3 separate regions of the Homo sapiens genome follow, and regions 2 and 3 are each linked to region 1. The links are contacts of gene promoters, found by promoter capture Hi-C in blood cells and fetal thymus (Javierre and others, 2016). All regions are on one chromosome and are shown on one strand. Each heading gives the region's core, a stretch centred on a gene start or on the middle of the fragment in contact. The rest is flanking DNA. Distances are from core to core; before and after follow the strand shown.

Evidence for each region. The method cuts DNA at HindIII sites, captures the fragments that hold promoters and counts their contacts. A CHiCAGO score of 5 or more calls a contact.
Region 2: a contact is called between the fragment with the promoter of MBNL2 here and the fragment with the promoter of TMTC4 in region 1, in 1 of 17 cell types (activated CD4 T cells). The highest score is 6.4, in activated CD4 T cells.
Region 3: a contact is called between the fragment with the promoter of DNAJC3 here and the fragment with the promoter of TMTC4 in region 1, in 1 of 17 cell types (total B cells). The highest score is 5.2, in total B cells.

Annotation. Positions count from the first base shown.
Region 1 is chr13:100,672,586-100,676,245 of GRCh38, forward strand. TMTC4 (transmembrane O-mannosyltransferase targeting cadherins 4) reads right to left here and starts at 2,210. Exons shown (of 19, transcript NM_032813.5): 1 at 2,159-2,210. RefSeq lists enhancers at 586-1,475, 2,801-2,880 and silencers at 1,591-1,670, 1,721-2,080, 2,111-2,610. The HindIII fragment of the contact is 7,703 bases long and covers 1-3,660 here.
Region 2 is chr13:97,221,083-97,224,849 of GRCh38, forward strand. It overlaps MBNL2 (muscleblind like splicing regulator 2), which reads left to right and starts at 1,251. Exons shown (of 9, transcript NM_001382683.1): 1 at 1,251-1,449. RefSeq lists an enhancer at 1,273-1,332. The HindIII fragment of the contact is 4,024 bases long and covers 1-1,624 here.
Region 3 is chr13:95,675,825-95,679,396 of GRCh38, forward strand. DNAJC3 (DnaJ heat shock protein family (Hsp40) member C3) reads left to right here and starts at 1,315. Exons shown (of 12, transcript NM_006260.5): 1 at 1,315-1,513. The coding sequence starts at 1,432. DNAJC3-DT (DNAJC3 divergent transcript) reads right to left here and starts at 1,101. Exons shown (of 2, transcript NR_132117.1): 1 at 28-1,101. RefSeq lists enhancers at 405-1,252, 516-615, 1,253-2,099, 1,446-1,495 and silencers at 1,136-1,375, 1,606-1,695. The HindIII fragment of the contact is 3,320 bases long and covers 1-2,782 here.

The DNA.
Region 1 (3,660 bases), core at 960-3,459:
GCTCAAGGGACCCTTCCACCTCAGCCTCCCAAGTAGCTGGGACTATAGGCATATGCCACCATGCCTGGCTATTTTAAATATTTTTTTGTAGAGACAGGGTCTCACTATGTTGCCCAGGCTGGAATCAAACTCCTGGCTTCAAGCGATCCTCCTGCCTCAGCCTTCCAAAGCATGGGGATTACAGGTGTGAACCACCGTGCCCGGCCTCCACCATTTTTTACAGTCAGGACATGAAATAGGAAAGGATGCTCTGTTTTCTTCCAGATGGGCCCTAGGTTGAACTTTCTGGTCCCTCTTCTCCACATGATGTCCTGCCTGGGCTCCCTGGCTCCTCTGCCATAGCTGGATCGTTAGTTCACCTTATGAAGCAACAAAAAGAGAGACCCACTGTGGCCTCTGCTACAGGCCAAGCAGAGGGCACAACCCAGGAGGAATGAAGTCAGTGTTCTGCTCGCTACCTGACTCCTGCGACAGAATCAACTGGCCCCTCAACAGGGGCTGAATCTGGAACAAAGCAGACGTCCCTTTATCCTACAATTTCTCAAACTTCTCATATCGAGCCTCTGTTTTCAGGAGGTTAAAACAAATTAATCATCAGTGAGAAGGCCAAAAAGACCCCACACAGGGACCCCAGAAAAACAAATGTCATCCAGCTGTGAACCATGAGGGCCCAATGACAGCTGACACGGCAGCCTGGACTGCGGTAAACAGAATGGCGAGACCAAACCTAAATGTTTCCCCTTGGAAAAATTAGCAGCAGCCACCTACAGAAGAATATTCCCCTCCATGCATCCAGGGGCCTGCTGACCTCTGCCCAGCCTTTCTACCTCATCTGTAACATTCAATCACATAGCCAGCCATCCTATGCACGCTGAGAGGTGACAGCGCCTCTGGGAATCAGATTAGAGAACACAATCGTTTGTGACCCTGCATCCCTGGGCCTGGCAGTTTCCTGACTGATCAGACCCTGGGCCCCTCAAGGCAGGGGCGCGAGCCACCACCACCGCCCTCCTCCGTGCAGTGCTGAATACATGCTACTGAAGGCTAAGGTATCGTCCTGCTGTGACGGCCTTCCCATTTTATAATTCAGTAGCGCACGAGGGCCATGGCTGCCTATAGCAAGAATGTGTGTGGTTTGATATTCACAGTTCCACTGTCCCAGAAAGTTTCCAGTTTGCTAGCTTGTAGCCATTTCCCCTATCTAGGTGCACTGGCCGTGATTTTACCCCACTCCATCTGGGGCGCGCCCGGCGCAGACAGGACTGCAGAGAAAAGGGACAGGGAGGGGACCTAGTCAGTCCCTACTATAACTGTTTCTCAAGACATTCTCCCCATGCATTTATTTGCTCTCCCGGGGAAAGAGCGAAGTGTGGGATGACTCATAGTGGCTAGATCGTTCCTCTAACTCCTCCCTTCTTTTGTGTGTGGTTTAAAAAAAAGAAAAACACACACGCAGCCCATAGCCACAACATCAACAAGACCAGAAGCCCCGCAGAGTTCGCAGGAGGTGGGCAGTGGCTGCGCCACCTGCTCGGCTTCCCCAAACTCCGAGCCCACGCCGGGAAGCGGCGGCTCGGTGGCCCCGGGCGCCCGGGCCGGTGGCCCCGCGCTCGCGCCGCTCCGCTCCGCAGCCGAGCGTGGAGTAGCAGGCGCTCGCGGCGCGGCGGGGGAGCCGCCGCGGAACCCAGGGCAGGCGGCCAAGCGGCCCGGCTGTGTCCAGCCATCGCCTGCGCCGCGGCCAGCTGGCGGCCAGGCGCGGGGCCCCGCGGCCAGATGGCCGCTCCGGGGACGCGCCGCAGGCGCCGGGTGCGCCCGGGCCGAGGGAGCGCCGGCGCGGCTGTGCAGGCAGGGGCTGGGGGCGGCGACCTCTGCCCGGGCGGAGAAGCTCAGGGGCCCGAGCGCGGCGGGCGGGGCGCGCAGCCTCCACGCCGCGCCCTTTGTCCCATGTGCGGCTCACACAGGGGCCCGCGTCCCCCGTGACCCCGGCCCGGGCCGCAGCTCAGGTCCCGGAACCAACTCCTCCAGCAGCGCCGCTCTGGCCCGGGCCGCCGTGCGGGGCTCGGGACACGGCGGCAGCGGGGAACCCGCGCCCGCTCCGCGTCCAACTCCGCTCGCCCCGCGGCGCGCTCGGCCCTGCAGGGGCCGCCCCGCGCGTTACCTGCAAGGAGCCTGAGCCCCGGCCGCATCTCCCTCCCGGGTGCGGAAACTCTGGCGGCTCCAGGCACCCGCCCGGACCTGGCAGGGGGAGGGGCCGCCCGCCGCGCACCCGACCCCCCCCGCGCCGCGCCTCCCGCAGCTCCCCACGCGCGCGGGCGCCCCCCAGCACCAGTCTCGGCCCGCCCCCTCCGCCCGACCATTGGCTGCTGCTCCCGTCACTTTCAGGCCACAGCCAAGTCCCTCCTCAGCTCATTGGCGGACGCGCCGGTGACGTCAGGCCAGGGGGCGCTAGTCGGCGGCGAAGGAGGCGCAGGGACAGACGGACCCGGCGGGAGAGGAGGAAGCCGGGTTGTGGGCGCGGAGCTGAGGCGGAGGCGGGGCCGGGGCGGGAAGGGGCGGCCCCAGCTGGGTCGGGCGAGGCTGGCTGCGGGAAACCGAGTGAGCCCTCGCTTTTCCTCCGGGGTCCGCGCGCGGGACCCTATTTCTGGCCTGTCTCGCGCTTCGCCTGCGCGGTGGTCTCCACGCTGGGACTGCGGCGTCCTCGCAGAACAGCCAGAACTCCACTTCTTCCTGTCCGGGAGGAGTTGTTTAAAACATGCGTATCTCCACCTTCTGCTTCTTAGAACAGAACTGACTGAAGCCGTGTTCTTCCCGCCGAGACCATGCCGCCCCATCGACCCTGCTGCGGCCAGAGCCACCCAGGGCGGGCCCACTCACCGCAGGCTCGGGCCACTTGGTTCCAAACCTCCACTCCCATCCAGGGGCCCGGCACACCCACCACACTCCCACTCTCAGAGGTCTTTGCCGCCTGCTTCAGGAGAAAAGAGAAACTTCCACTTTCCACCGGCAAAACTGCACACCTGCTCCCTCCATCACCGAGCCCCCCCCCCCACCTTCTGTTTTTCCAGTATCGCAGAATCCGATCCGTTGCTCCCTCTGGACTGGAATCCGTATCCTCGGCATTTCATCATTCCAAGATTCTCTACTCCACGTACCCTTGCTGCCACCCTCTTCTACTTTCCATCGCTGAAGTTGGTGAAAGAGGCGCCTGCCCCCAGTTTTGTGGTCTCTCAACTCCACGTGTTCGTTTTCACACTCGGTGAAATTGCCTTTTTAATTGTCGCAAGTAGCATCCACATCACTAAAGTCAAAGGACACTCTCCTTTCTCGTGTTAACTGATCTGAGCAAAATTCCTTCTTTCTCCTTAAAACACGTCTTCCTGTGGCGGGGGTGCTCCACTTTCCTGTCTGTCCCCAGTCTTGGCGTGCTTGTCTACTCTGGGTGACCACCAAATAACAGAGTTTTCAAGGTCTCAGACCTTTCCTCTTACTCCACAATTTTTCCCTGAATGATTTAACCTGCTGTCAACATTTAAATCAATATATCCCAAATTTGCAACTCTAATCTTTGCTCCTCTGAGCTCCAAATCCGTTTATCTAGCTTCCTATTCAGCTACTCCTGGTAACAAGCACCTCAAATGGAACCCATCCAAAACTGAATGC
Region 2 (3,767 bases), core at 1-2,500, 3.5 Mb before region 1:
TTATGTTTTTAAGATGCAATGGCAAAATAAAAAGAAAGCATTCCATTGCATTCTGTTGCTTCATTACAGATGCGCTGAACAGTTGCTTATAAAAATCGTGCATTGGGTTCAACCTTTCAGATGAATAAAGGCTTTGTTCTGTCTTGGTCTCATCATGTAATCATCATACTTTTTTTTTCTCAAAATGTGGTATTTAGGGGAGGAAAATGTATGCTTGTTGTGTTTGCTCAATGCCATATGTTTTTGAGTTTTTGTTTTCAAGGCATACAGAAATGCTGTAGACTGGGAAATAAATAAATAAATAAATAAATAAATAACCCTTCCTAAACTTTCTCTTCTTCTGCTTTATCTCAGGAAACTCCAGCACCTCCTAGAACATCTTTTGTGGAATGGCACCTCATGGGGGCCCTTGGATCATGTACCCCTTGTATTCAACAGTAAACATCTTCCTATAATCATTGCTTCATTAACGATAATGTGAGCCAATGCACAGTATTTATCAAATGGCATCTAAGATGGTTAAAGCACACCTAATCCTCTCGTGGGTGCCTGCCAAGAGTAGAAAAGGGTAGTGTATAGATATCAATTTTATTGTCCAGCATTCCCTAATCGAAGTCCCAAGTGGTCTGAAAACTTAGACGAAAGATAAATGGGCCGCAGTAATTAACCACTGCAATAACAGATGTTATACAGGAAACCTGTGTGTGCCAGAGCTATAAGCATGTTTTGATTTTGAATACGCACTTGGGCTAGCACATTCTTCCTCAATAATGGAAATATGTAAATGTTTTGTAAGGTATTAACTGCCATGGCAGACGTTGAATTATTTTTCCTTTAAAAAACATATACATATGCTTTGTCAGATAGTCCAAGGACTTCAGTTTCATGTACAACCTGGATTTCTTTGGAATCTGCGGAGTTTCACATTTTCCCAAGTGTTCACGGTGAAGCTCCTGGCTTCGAGCTGGCTGTCTTCAAGGGTGTTTTCTTGAGCTACCCCTCTCTCTGCTCTGCCAATTATGTGCCACTTTGTCTTGGTGCTATGATTGCTTTCTTCTGAGAGGGAAATTCCTCTTTCATCAGTATGGATGCACTGTTTTTACACACTGCAAGTGCTGTGTTACTGTGTCAGTCATCCTATTAGGGCCAGTTTCAGACGAGTAGGGCTGACGAGCTGGCTGGGGATTGGCTGGCCCCGGCTGGGAGGGATTTGTCGGAAGGAAGGGCTGCAGCTTACAGCAACAGAGTTTAGACTGTCTTTGCTTCATCATCTGAAGGTAAAATTTTCCAGATACGGCAGACGGCTTTCAGAGTACAATAAACAGGGAATGAGAACTATTTACATGGAAGTTTCTTTCTCATGATGCGGTGGAGAAGCCTCGGCCACTTGGTTCTGCCAGATGTTCCTGGGGTTACTGTAAATGGGAAGGACAGGCAGAGCTAAACAAGGTAGGAGAATCGCCCCCCTTTTTTGAATGTTTAAAGAGTTTGCTGCAGTATGCTGCATTCCATGTGTGCTGCTTACGGGAGCCAGGGAAACTGGATTCCACTAATTCAATTGTAATACTTGCGGGGGACCCTGGAGTTTTACGTAACATTTTGATTTGAGAAAAAGAAATGGCAAAGCTTGAATCTATGCCGCCTGTTTGGGGTGAGGCAAGAAATCGAGTTTTTATGCAAAGAATCGATTCATTTATTATATTATTTTTTAAAAACCATTTGAATTCTTTGGAGCAATCTTATTTTCTTGCTGTGAAAAATTGTTATATTGCCATAGCTAGTTCCCAAATAGATAAAGTTTACATGGATCCTATTATTTGAAAACAGACTTGCAATTAAGGATTAAAAAAAAATTCATGGTAAATAATCATCGGTTGAATGTTTGGCCAAACGTATGTGTCTATTTATTAAAAATTAGGGACCTACCTAGCTCTACAATGCTACAGCTTTAATTGAGTTTCAAAAGCACATTTTAAACAACCTAGCAAGAGGTAGCTTTCTGGCAAGTTTTCGATACTGTAGTTCAATGTTTACATTTCTTTTCCTGGCATGTCTGAGCCTTTGTTTCCAGCTTAAAAGTGGAACCATTATATTCAAAAGTAAAGCTGGGTTAATAATGCTTACTGCAATTATCTGATCTTTATGCATTTTTAATGAGAACACACAGCCAGCAGAATAATTTAATGAGGGCAGGCTAGCTTTTAAAGCTGTGTTTTCACTATGCCGAACCATATCAACTTTCTCGCTGAGAAGCAGCAGTGAGAAATGATGGAGAAGATTTATTTTTAACACACTTGGCCCAGGAGAAGGAAAGGATATATTTGCTAAAGAATTCTTTCTGCCCTTTTCCGTTTTAAATTTCTGCCAGGCATGAGGAAACTGTGCTTTTTTGTTAGGCCTCGGAAGCATGTGTTTACAATAAATGTGTAACATTTTTAGAATAGTTAGCAAGCACTGAAGCGAAGAAAAAAATCTGACTTGCCTAACCACCACCACCTTGAATGTTCTACAAGAAACATTACTGTCCCTTTAAAAGACAAAGGTTAAGTGGAAAGCTATTTGTTAATTGGGTAATGTGTGTGTTTTGGGGACAATAAGGTTTTTAAAAAAGGCAGGGGGAACATTCTTATAATCTTTAAATAAGAGGAAGTTTCTTCAGCTATCCTACTTGTTTTGCAAGGAGCAGTAGAACTACTCATTTAAATAAGGGCAATGCCACGTAGATTCTTCTAGACCCACTGTTTTTACTTTCAAGGAGAAGTGCAGGACACTAGCCCAGAACTTCTGACGTCATCCCCCAACTATTTCTGCTGTGTGTTCCTTTATTCGAGCTTGTGGAGAGGAATATTTCTTTATGTCCTGGCCAGGAACATTCTAACTCCCCACTGGCAGGACTTAAGTTATGTCTTTATATTTTCGCCTGTCTTTTGTAAATTGTAAACCTGTCCCCTCATAAATAGGGCATCTTCTTGTACCTGCCACATGTCGGGCCGGTCAGCACAGGTTTTCTGCAGGGCTTCTGGCTGGGCTGGCAAAAAGCAGCAGGGAGCAGGGCAAAGCTTTTTTTCTGGCCTGACTCCCCCTTGGTGCAGCCCAGCGCTGCCACCTGGGTGGATGGTCCCCGGGGCCCTATTCCCAGTTGCTCCAGAGCCACTATTTAGGATCCAGGTTGTGCCACCAAGTTCAAGGCTGGTTGTGATGGTGAGAACAGCTGCTTTCATAGAAAAATCATCATGTCCTAGCACAGATGGCCCCAAGCAGGGGAAGTACAATACTGCAGGCTGCAAATCCATGTCACAGGTGGCAACCTTGGTCACAGAGATCGGGGGAAGGGTAATGTTTACAAAGGAACCTTTTAAAAAAGATTTTGACTGGAGCACATTGGAGTTCTCGGGAGTTCCCAAAGCTAATTTGTGTCTCCTCTCTGACTACTCACGTAGTTTTGAGCAAGTGCCTACCTTGATTTTTCTGTCTTTTAATAGAATTGAATCATACTTGCTACACTTTCCCTCATCATTTAGCATTTTGAGACCTTGACCTTTTACCAAAAAAAAAAAAAAAAAAAAAAAAGTTGTTTGTCTCTTGGCACATTGAGCTATTTAAAGTACAAAGGGATAAAACCTCGGTATTAAGAAACTGTTGGCAAACACCTTAGAGTATTAAGATACATAGTCATATACACAAAACCCTTCACTCTACTTTGTGCTCATGTAAATTTTTTAGGGATACTTTTTCTTAGTTCAACAAATGAAATTTCCAAGGAAATC
Region 3 (3,572 bases), core at 65-2,564, 5.0 Mb before region 1:
ACCACTTTACAGATGAAGATAACTTACATAATAGTTATGGGGTTTCCTGGATCTGACTCCTTTATTCTTCACATTACATTATGTTGCCTTCCCCACAACTAATCAAGGACTCCGTTTTTTCTTTTTTCTTTCTCGAAACCATTTCCTCCATATTAGTTCCCTTTGGAATAGAAGCCTTTTTAAAAGTCCACCTTAGTATATCTTCAGGGAATCACAAATTCACTATGCTATTTATAATTCATGAGTTTCTCTAATGGTATCAAGGCAGCAAATACAGGTGAAGTAATAATTATCCACCTGATAGTACTTAACACACATACCCCGTGTAAAAATACTGCTGGTGTACAGTGTGTGTGTTGGTGACGCCGGAGGAAGTGGCCGTGAACAGGCTTAATGCCGCATTGAGTAACTTCAACCTCATCTTGCTCAGGTTCATATCTCTCCTGAATTTCCCCTGGTAAGCGCAAGATTCAGGATCCGTTCTCACAGTTTTTTGTTTACCAGTTGATGTTGGCTGCATTCAGGAACGCCTTGCTCTCTTAAGCCACAGTGCCTTCCTGGTCTCTTCTTCACAGGGTCTTCCACAATCGCTCTTTTTCCTGGGCACGGTGGTTTGCTGAAAGTCGGGGTGGGGGGCGGGGCGTTCCCAAGTTTCCAGGCCAATTACCTACCTGCCTTAGAGCAATTACGCACTTCTCTCTGGTAGTCCCTGAAATGTTCTAATCATCAGATCGCCCCAGCTTCTCCTGACCGTTTCTTGCTTACGGCTCAGTTCAGACAGTATTTGTTCCGGGACGCTCAGCGGGAGGCGGTTTTTACCGGCTCACTCGAGACCCCAATTCCAGGCGCCCTGCAGCTTCCCTCAGACTCCCCGGGACCGTGTTTGGCCTTCCCATTCGTACGCTGCGGCTGCGCTTTCCTCTCGTAACACCACGCTGGCGAACCTGGAAAGGATCAAATAGTCCCACTCGCCAACCTAGCGCGGCGGGACCGGCCCAAAAGGGCCTTTGCAGCCTGCGCATGCGGACTCGGCGGCCGCCACCGACTCCCCGTCTGCTTCCCTCCGGGCGGCAGCCGCGGTTTGGAGCTTGCTGACAGCTCTGCGACCGGCGGGCGCAGCCTCGTCTCGTGCTTCCACGTTATCCTATCAGGGACGGGGCGGGGCGGCGGCCTCCGCAGCCTATCAGCGCGAACCACGACCCCGGCGAGCCCGGGAGGAAAGCCGCCAGAAAGAAGGCGATTGGATGGCGGCGGCGCTCTGGGGCGTAGCGTCGCCCGGGCCCCGCCCACCGCTGCCTTCCTCTGCTGGGCTCCAGAGCCACTGAGGCCTGAGCGAGAGCCGACGGCGGGCGGGCGCAGCTGCTGCCGGAGCGCCGGCGCGTGCTGGTGGGCCACACACCTTTCCTCCTCTTCACTCGCGAGCCCTCGGACATGGTGGCCCCCGGCTCCGTGACCAGCCGGCTGGGCTCGGTATTCCCCTTCCTGCTAGTCCTGGTGGATCTGCAGTACGAAGGTGAGTCCTGCCCTGCCCCGGCCAGGAAGTGGGCTCCCGGACCAGGCCCCCCGCGCTTTCCCGTCTGCGCCCGGGCGCCTGTCCCGGAGCGGCTCGGGAGGTGGGGCGAGCGCTGGGGGAGCCCGCGGCCTGGCTTGGGCCTGAGCCCGCGCCCGGTTCCGGGTTTGTCTGGGGAAGAATCGAGGGGACTGGCGGGCCGCGGGGCCGGGACAGCGGGTTTGGACTAAGGAACCGGGCCGCAGGAGTCGGAGGAGGCGGGGTGCGGGGGCACCGGGCTACGACTTCAGGAAGTCCTGGGACGCGGAGACTTGGGCAGCCTTTGGGTCCTGGCCTCGCTTGGGACCCTCGCTGGGCGCCTGGGGACACTGTCAGTCATTGGTGCTGGCTGGGAGGAGGCACTAAGGTGGCCAAAAGACTTCCTTCGCTCTGGAGTTCTTGGGTGGGGAAGGAGTGTCATGTCCGGCTGGGAGTTGGAGGGGACAGTGTTGACTATTTAAAAAGTGTGTAACCATCCCCATTAAGATGCACTGTCGTGTAGAGAAATTGTTAGTTTGGTGCAATGAGGAGCCGCTGTTGGAATTCCATCTCCCGGACGGCCAGGCACTGAGTTTGTGGTTTTACAACTCCCAACATGGTGTCATTCAACGTATGGCTGGCATTACTTTTCCAAGTTCGCTGTAAAAAGGTTCCCTTAAAAAGATACGAACGATTAAATTTCACTTCAGTCCTGCAGACTGGAATGTTGGCTACTCCAGAATAGCGAAAATAGAGGGCTGTCCTATCTTAGATGGCAGCGGGGAGGAGTAAGAATTAAAGTTGATAGTGCCGATTTAACGAATGCTTCTGGCGCGGTTACTGTGCGAAATATTCGAGTGTAATGACACATCACATGCACTGATCTATTTTCATCCCCATAAAAAGGGCTAGTTGTCAAGGAGGTCAAATTAAACCTTTGAGTATTCCATTCAAAGGGAGCGAGGAACTAAAAATTGGGAATTGTTTATAGTGAATTCTTCTGAAAGTTCTCAACTTTTTTTTTTAAAGTAGTACTCCCCAGTTTTTAGGTGTCACCCATAGCAATGGGCTTTTGCTTTTGCTTCCCCTGGTAACCATATTTTTTGAACCCCAAATCAGAACACGTAGTGTGGCAACATTGGGACAAAGAATTTGACAGTGAGGCTGCCCCCAGAAAAATCTAGGGGATTGGAATTTGAAGGTCTGTACCACTTTAATATGGGTCATATATTCTAGTTCTTTTGCATTTTCAAAAGCTTCATTCCTCCTGCCCCCGCACCCCACCATCCCTCATCTGTAGTATTTATCTCCAGTTATCATTAATAATTTATTTTGGACACTTAAGAGAAAGTTGCCTATGTTCTGTTTAATGGTGATTTTTTTTTTTAAGTTACAGAGATGCACAATTTTGAATGATTGCTTTTCCCACTACTTTTTAGAATTGCTGTTCTGTATATGAGTCTGTAAGGACTCTTAACTCTTCATTTCCCTCCTGTGGTATTTTCCATAAGAAAACCACATTTGAGAGCTTTTCTGTGTAGGAGGCACTGGTGACATTTCTCAGAGGAGTGCCAGAGTGTCTTCTTTAGGACCATTGTCTGTGTAAAATAGCAGGGACTTAGTACAGGTAACAGAAAAAGGAAAGAAAGGAGCCTTTCTGTAAGCCATATCTTATTCACGAAAGCGTGTGGTATTCATTCCTACTTTACAGACCAGGGAACTGAGGCTCCAAAGGTTTTACTAAAGTTCATTTTGTGTGCACGCTGGAGACAGAAGTTAAGTAGTTGACAACATCATGTGAGTCCAAGCACTTTTAAGTGATGGCAGCTGAGAAAAAAAATCAGCACTTTTTTTTTTTTTTTTTTTTTGTAATTAACAAGAAGGTTATTTCCTGGGAGGTTTAATACAGTGGTTCTCAAACTTGAGTGTGCATCAGAATCGCACATGGAGGGCTTTTTAAAACAGAGTGCTGTACCCCACTTACAGAGTTTGATTCATTAGGTCTTGATGGGACCTGAAATTTTGCGTTTCTAGAAAGACCCTG